Linked DNA regions of Homo sapiens: region 1 is linked to region 2. Evidence: promoter capture Hi-C in human tissues and cell types (Jung and others, 2019). All regions are on one chromosome and are shown on one strand. The core of a region is centred on a gene start or on the middle of the fragment in contact, and the rest is flanking DNA. Distances in the headings are between cores, read along the strand shown.

Region 1 (3,319 bases), core at 798-3,297, 640 kb after region 2:
AGCCAGGATGGTCTCGATCTCCTCACCTCATGATCCGCCTGCCTCGGCCTCCCAAAGCGCTGGGATTACAGGTGTGAGCCACCGCGCCCGGATGTTATTTATATATATTTTTGTATTTTAGTAGAGACGGGTTTCTTCATGTTGGTCAGGCTGGTCTCGAACTCTCAACCTCAGGTGATCCGCCCGCCTTGGCGGTTGCCCAGGCTGGTCTTGAACTTCTGGACTCAAGTGATACTCCCTCCTTGACCTCCCAAAGTACTGGGATTACAGACGTGAGCCCCTGCTCCCAACCACTACAAGGGTTTTGACACTGACTCCTAGTCACCAGTCTCCAACTGGAGACTCCTAGTCTCCAACATGGCAAGAGACCAACAACCCAAGATAGGTCCGTCCCAGCACTGAGGGACCTAACTACAGGATGACTGATCAGTAAAGTTTTTGGAGAAAGATCTTGACCAAAAGGGGGAAATATGAAAGTTGTTAGAATCAAAACAGAGTCGTTTGTGTTAAAAACTCTGACAAATTTAAAGCATGATTCTCCAATGGGAAAAAACAAGAACAACAACTCTGACAAATAAAACCGAGGAAGGTTGTGAAAAGAGGGTTCTTATGCACAAATGACTGATAACAAGATCACAAAAAATGCAAAAACCACAACCCTGCACAAAGGCCACTGCAAACTTACACAGAAAAATCTTTCTGTGAGGACATCTGCCCTGCAACTGCCTGTCCAACCTCAGACTAGCACCACTCTTGCTATTCATCCTTGTAGCCAAGGATAACTATCTCAAAATAATCATGTAATCCTCATTTTTCCTTTTCAAAACCTTTGTCTTCCTTTACCTCCCCAAATACGTACACAGGTTACTATGGCACACATATTGTCACTACAATGTCTATTCCCAAGTAAACATCATTTTTTTAGAGTCTCTCACTCTGCTATTTAGGTTGACAGTACCTACCACACTCTAGGCACTGTTCTAGAGGCGGGAATACAGCAATAAATAAGCAAAAATCTCTGCACTCATGGTACTTGTCTCTAGTAGGGATAAGAGTTGATCAATAAACTTGTAAAATAAGCACAGAGGGATGAGAGGGTGTCGGTCAGGTACAAGATTACATAAAGTGGTCAGGAGAGGTCTCACACTCAGATTACAACTCCCCAATGTTACCAATGTGAAATCAAGGCACAGAAAAATGAGGTGACTGCCCAAAGTCACACAGCTATTCCCAGGCTGAACCAAGTGTCTGTTTGGCTCTAAGTCCAGTGCTCTGTCTTCTGACTCTTTGTAAATGAGCACAGGCTACCTGAGATCAGAGCTGGCTACTGAACTACCAGGACACCTGCCCCAGGGGAGAGATGCTCAGTTACAGACAGTGAGGGGCTGCAGAGATCATCCGGAGAACCCCCTACCCCCAAGCAGACGAGATAAGTGAAACCTAGAGAAGGAATAGTCCAAGTTCACCCAGGACCCTCCACATTCCACCTCCTGCTCCAAACTCAAGGGAACCAGAACCAGGCTAGGGCAAAACTTTAGGGGCCAAGGAGAATACCAGACAGCTGGCAATGACTGAAGCAGGTAGTGGGAAAGAAAAGCCAGAACAGCAGCCTGCGGGACAGGTCCTGCTTTCTCTACTGTTAAACTCACTTTTTCAGCCTCTCAATCCCGATCCTGCCGTATGCGTCACCCGGAGCTCCTCCTGGCTCAGCATGAGGCTCTGAACTCCTGCAGAGGTACCAGGTAGTGGCGGGCCTTGAGCCAGCTACCGGGGTCGGGGGCCCAGGTGGTTGACCCCGAGCCTTCGGAGCTCCCGGAGGAGGGAGCGAGCCTTCTCAAGGAACAGAGGCGTCCAGGTCCACGAAACTCCCTCCCCACCACCTGCAGCCGGTTCGAGGCCCTCGGTTCTCTCATTATCCTTCCCGGGAACCTGCAGCCCGCGGCCCCTACAGCCACCTACCTGGCCAGTCGGTGCAGGAAGGGCAGGTGGCCGAGTCCTGTGCGAGCAGCTAGGCTCGAAGGTCCAACAGGCTAACAGCAAAGCAACTGAAAGCGGGAGCAAACGGCTAGCAACCGAGCGCAGACCGCCGAGCTCCGTCCCGCCCACCGCGCTGCTCCCGGCCAATGAGCGCGAGCCGCCACTGCGGGGCTCCGCTAGCCTCACTTCCGGCCCCGCTCCACCGCCCCTGCCTGCCCCTCCAGGCTCTGGCGTGCCTCCAGCGCGCTGTGGGCACCATCCTCGTCCTGTCCCTCCTGCGGGCCCTGGGTACGTGGCCCTGGATTTAGCTTGTGTTGGAGGAAGTTAAATCTGTGGGTGGGGTCTGTGCCCAATTTAAGGCGTGAATCAGCAAACTGGGGTCCCAGCTCCTGTCGGCCGGGCGACCTTCTGCGCGCCCTCCCTGAAACTGTGTCGTCGTCTGTGGCCGAGTTTTTAAACTTTAGATCGCAACGTGAGTTTAGTGGGCGGTGACTAGCACTTTTGTTCTTCTTTAAGGACCTCAGAGACTCAGTGCAGGATTCGGGCATCCCCTCCTTGCCCCTCCGGTCCACCAACTAATAAGCCAAGTGCGGCGGGGGCTTCCTCGTCCGTTCGTTAGGCCGAGTGCAGCCCCACTTTTGCGCAGGATCAGGACAGTCAGACCCGAGAAGGCAGCGTGGCGTGGCCATCTCCGGGCCCGGGGCCCCTGCCGGGCGGGAAGGGAGCTGGAGGCCCGGTCTGGGCTGAGCTCCCCAGAACAGGCGCAGGGCAGGCACTGTCGAGCGCAGACCTCATGCCGGGGACCAAGCTGGACATGCATTCCCAGGATCTACCCACGAGGGTGCATAAACACCAGTTCTGATGACGGCTGTACGGGAAGGGACAGAGGTGACCTACTTTAGCCAGACAAGGGCTGAGGCTGGGACAGTTTCGTTCTGATAGGAAAGCTGAGAATTTGACCCTCCTTGCCTGGAAAGTTTACCTCTATCCACCTCCACGTGAGGCGAGGGAGCAGGTCAAGTGCCTCTGGGAGCTGTTGAATCGCAGCAGCCCCAACCCCTAGGCCTTTCTCTGCCCTGCCAGCCCCAGGATGGCCTGACTGGTGTTCTCTGAGTACAGCTGAGGCACCCAGCTGACTCCTTGAATGCTGTTACAAGAACAAATCCTGTCCCGTCCCTCCTTCCCTGAGGAGGCCATCAGTCTCCTTGCTGAAACAATCCCTTATCCAACTGGCTGAGAAACCAGCTCCTGGTAGACAAGGTAGTACAGTGTTTTTGGAGAGCTCGCGCAGGTATGTGAGTGTATCATTTTATTTCCTTATTCTATTTCAACAATAGAGTAT
Region 2 (3,734 bases), core at 1-2,500:
TGTGGCCACCTGAAGCCAGGCCCTGGGGTGGGTGACCAAGGGCCTCCCGCCCACTCCTAGGCCAGCCGCTCCTGGCAAGTGCCCAAGTCCCCGTCCCACGGGCAGCTCAGAGATGGCCTGGCCCCATGCTCCTTGTTTGACACAAAATCAGCAGACACCGGGAGGAAAGAAAAGAAAAGGGAAGCTCAAGAGAAACAGTGACTCAGGCACAGGCTCCCTGCCAGGCAGACAAAAACGCCCAAAACACTTTCGTTTTGCCCCAGGGGAGTTTCCTGGGGAGGGGGCTTCTGCAAGTGAAGCCTTTGGTCACCTGTGACCTGCTGGAAAGATCATGGTCCAGAGATCCAAAGGCGGATTTTCCCTCCCTCTGATTCTATTCCGACGATGGAGGGCAGACTGGGATTACTGTTGATCTGCACACCCCTGGGAGATTTCTGGTCCTAAAACAGCATCTTGCCTGTAGTCCCAGCTACTCAGAAGGCTGAGGCAGGAGAATCACTTGAACCCGGGAGGCGGAGGTTGCAGTGAGCCAAGATCGCACCATTGCACTCCAGTCTGGGCAACAGGAGTAAAACTCCGTCTCGAAAAAACAAACAAACAAACAAAAACAAAACAGCATCTCCTCAGTGTTGCGGGGCATTTTGTACAGAATGGATGTTCGAGTCCAATAAGTGCAGGAAGTCTCTAACTTCCCAAGGAGCTGTCTCCCAGAGAAAGCCGTTCCCACTCAGAAACCGGATTATAAATGACGTCGGGCTTCCAGGAACCGCCCGAAAGCTGCTGAACTCTGAATGCAGCTGAAAATCTGTACATGTGAAATGAAAACAGTAAAAATCAATACTAGTTGCAATACCAGTAATTTCTGAACAGAAAAAATAAATGGTTTTATGCATCTGACTGTGGATGCTGGAGAGAGAAGGTAGTTTTCATCAGAGGAGGCCTAGGGGAGGAGGGAGGCCTTCTCATTCCACTTCCCCTGCGTCTCTCTCCAGCCTCAGCCTCTCAGCCTGGAAGGAACACCCCAGTCCCTCCTGCGAGCCCTCCTGTCTACTCCTGGAAGCTTCTTTTTTTTTTTTTTTTTTTTTGTGAGACAGAGTTTTGCTCTTGCTGCCCAGTCTGGAGTGCAATGGCGCAATCTCGGCTCACTGCAACCTCCACCTCCCGGGTTCAAGCGATTCTCCTGCCTCAGCCTCCCGAGTAGCTAGGATTACAGGCGTGCGCCACCATGCCCGGCTAATTTTGTATTTTTAGTGGAGACGGTGTTTCTCCATGTTGGTCAGGCTGGTCTCAAACTCCTGACCTCAGGTGATCCACCCGCCACAGCCTCCCAAAGTGCTGGGATTACAGGCGTGAGCCACCTCGCCTGGCCTAAAACTACTTTTCTATCAACATCTCACTGTTTGCAGAGTGCTCTCACTTCGTTTACTTCCATTGTTCTTCACTAAACCCTGACAAAGTGGGTATTTCATCCCCATTTTGTGGATGCAGAAACTGCCCCCCACTTCAACGCCTGAGGAGACAAGGCTGGGATGCAAACTGAGCTCACGCCAGAGCCCCTGCCCTTCCCAGGACGCGGCGCTGTCCCTACAAGGAGGAGGGAGAGGGGAGGGAGTGGGGAAGGGAGAAAGGTTGCCGGGAGGAGGAGGAAGGATGGAAGGGAGGGAGGGAGGGCAGGTGGGGGGCAGAAGGGGCGGGGAGGAGGGAGGAAGTGGGAAGGAGGGCGAAGAAGGGAGAAGCGGGGGAACGGAGAGGGGGAGGGAGTATCAAACCTGTCCCATATTTGAGAGGTGCTTCGGGCAGTTTCCGAAGTGTGAGAGCCAGGGTCTGTTTAAATGCAGATTTCCTGGCCCTGCAACTCTCTGGGGTGGAGCCAGCGTGTCTGCAGAATAGTGGCAGCCACACACACACCCTCTGCTCACGGGAGACTGAGGCTCTGGTCTCACAGAACCTGAGAACTGTGGGTGAGGAAGCATGAATAGCCTCAGGGGAGGCTAATTGCTTCCTTAATTAGCTGAACCCGCGCTGGGGAGCCCTGCCCGGAAAGTCCCAGTTGCTGGGAAGGATGGGACTGGCTTGCCTGGCGGCCAATAACCGTTTCCGCTGGCGGCTGCCCCCGAGGAGACTGTGCGGCGTTTCCAGCAGAAACAGCACGAGGGGAAAGGGCCGGGCCACCGCGGTGCCCAGGAAGGGATTTAAAGAGGCAAGCTGAGGTCCTGCAGCCGCCACGCCCTGCACCCTGTACCGACAGCCCTCCGCCGGCACACTCTTGGTTCTGCCTGCACCGGACCCCCCCGGAACCCCCACTGCCCTATCCCACTGCCGCTCAAGCCCTATCTTGATCTTGCTAGGCGGTGGCCTCAGGGCAGCCCAGGACCCCTAGAGGGGGAAGAAGGGTCACGGAGAGGAAATCTCAGGTGAGGGCGTTCCCATGTCTACCACCAGGTGGCACCATCAGCACAGGCCAACCCTGGGGCCGTCCTGCGTGGCCAGGAGGGGAAGTGGGTGGCACCGTTAGTGGGGGACTTGGTGGCTCTGGCGTCTGTTGTCTGAGGGCCTCCTGGTTCTGTGCTCGTCTCTTTCAGGGACATGGTTGTGTCAAGGGCCCGAGCCTCCCAGAACCTTGGCACATGGTGGACGTGGAATAAATGTTGAAAATTGTGGCCGGGTATGGTAGGTCACACCTGTAATCCCAGCACTTTGGGAGACCGAGGCGGGCAGATCACTTGAGGCCAGGAGTTCGAGACCAGCCTGGCCAACATGGTAAAACCCCGTCTCTACTAAAAAATACAAACATAGCCGGGTGTGGTGGTGGGTGCCTTTAATCCCAGCTGCTTGGGAGGCTGAGACAGGAGAATCACTTGAACCTGGGAGGAGGAGGTTGCAGTGAGCCAAGATCGCACCACTGCACTCCAGCCTGGGTGACGGAGCGAGACTCCATCTCAGAAAAAAAAAAAAAAAAAGACAAAAAGAAAAAATCATGCCACCTTTGTTTTTTGTTTCTTCCAGATCTTGAAGATTCCTTTTGGTGTGGCGGGGTTGGGGAGTTGGCACTAGCTCCTTGCTGCCTCCCAGAAACTGAGCATAGCAGGGGGACCATGGTATGTGTCCAGTAGAAAAGCCCGGGTCCCCTCTGTGACCTCAAGCAGGTGAGTCACTGTTTTTCTCCCTCACTAAATATGTCAGCTGAGGCGTATAATATCTGCCCTGATTAAAGGACCAGGTGAATTGCAGGAGAGCGCAGTGGTTAAAGCCAGGTCCCGGGAGCTGGAGCCCTTGTTCCACTGCGTCTTCGCTGTGTGGCCTTGGGCAAGTGGCTTGTGTTCTCTGAACTCCAGTTTCCTCATCTGCGAAGCAGGAGCAGTCATAACACCTCCCATACAAGGTTTCTATGAGGGCTGAAGTACAAGAAAAGCCTTTAGAACTGTGTCTGGCATCAAACAAATGCTTAAGAGCCAAAAATACAAGCAGCTGGAACTGAGAGGGGATTCTGGAGACAAGCCAGGCCAGGCTTCCAGCCCGGGCAGCCTGCGGGCAGATGGCCTCCAGGTGGGTCTGCCTGCCTCTGGTGGGGTCAGCACCACCCAGCTGCAGGGCCACTGCGAGGCACAAGACGGCCCCAGAGGTAAACCCGGCTGCTCCTAGGATGGAGGCTGCCCTTTTTGATAGTGAGGGTGTTTGAGAGAGAGGGTGGATCGGCCCCTGAGTACCCTGGAACCCTTTTTGCCTCAGTGAAG

Evidence for each region. Contacts are between HindIII fragments. The study calls those that stand out against the background at their distance.
Region 1: the fragment with the promoter of CCDC134 here is called in contact with a fragment that was not itself captured in region 2 in 1 of the 25 tissues and cell types used here (spleen).

What each region holds. Positions count from the first base shown.
Region 1 is chr22:41,799,407-41,802,725 of GRCh38, reverse strand. It overlaps CCDC134 (coiled-coil domain containing 134), which reads right to left and starts at 2,047. Exons shown (of 7, transcript NM_024821.5): 1 at 1,960-2,047. It overlaps MEI1 (meiotic double-stranded break formation protein 1), which reads right to left. Exons shown (of 31, transcript NM_152513.4): 31 at 3,272-3,319. RefSeq lists silencers at 2,025-2,084, 2,675-2,764 and enhancers at 2,235-2,314, 2,385-2,464, 2,240-3,226. The HindIII fragment of the contact is 18,239 bases long and covers 1-3,319 here.
Region 2 is chr22:42,436,368-42,440,101 of GRCh38, reverse strand. LOC101927344 (a long non-coding RNA gene) reads right to left here and starts at 1,935. Exons shown (of 6, transcript NR_188414.1): 1 at 1,770-1,935. It also overlaps a transcript of NFAM1 not described here. RefSeq lists enhancers at 1,386-1,887, 1,851-1,900, 2,641-2,740. The HindIII fragment of the contact is 3,608 bases long and covers 1-3,054 here.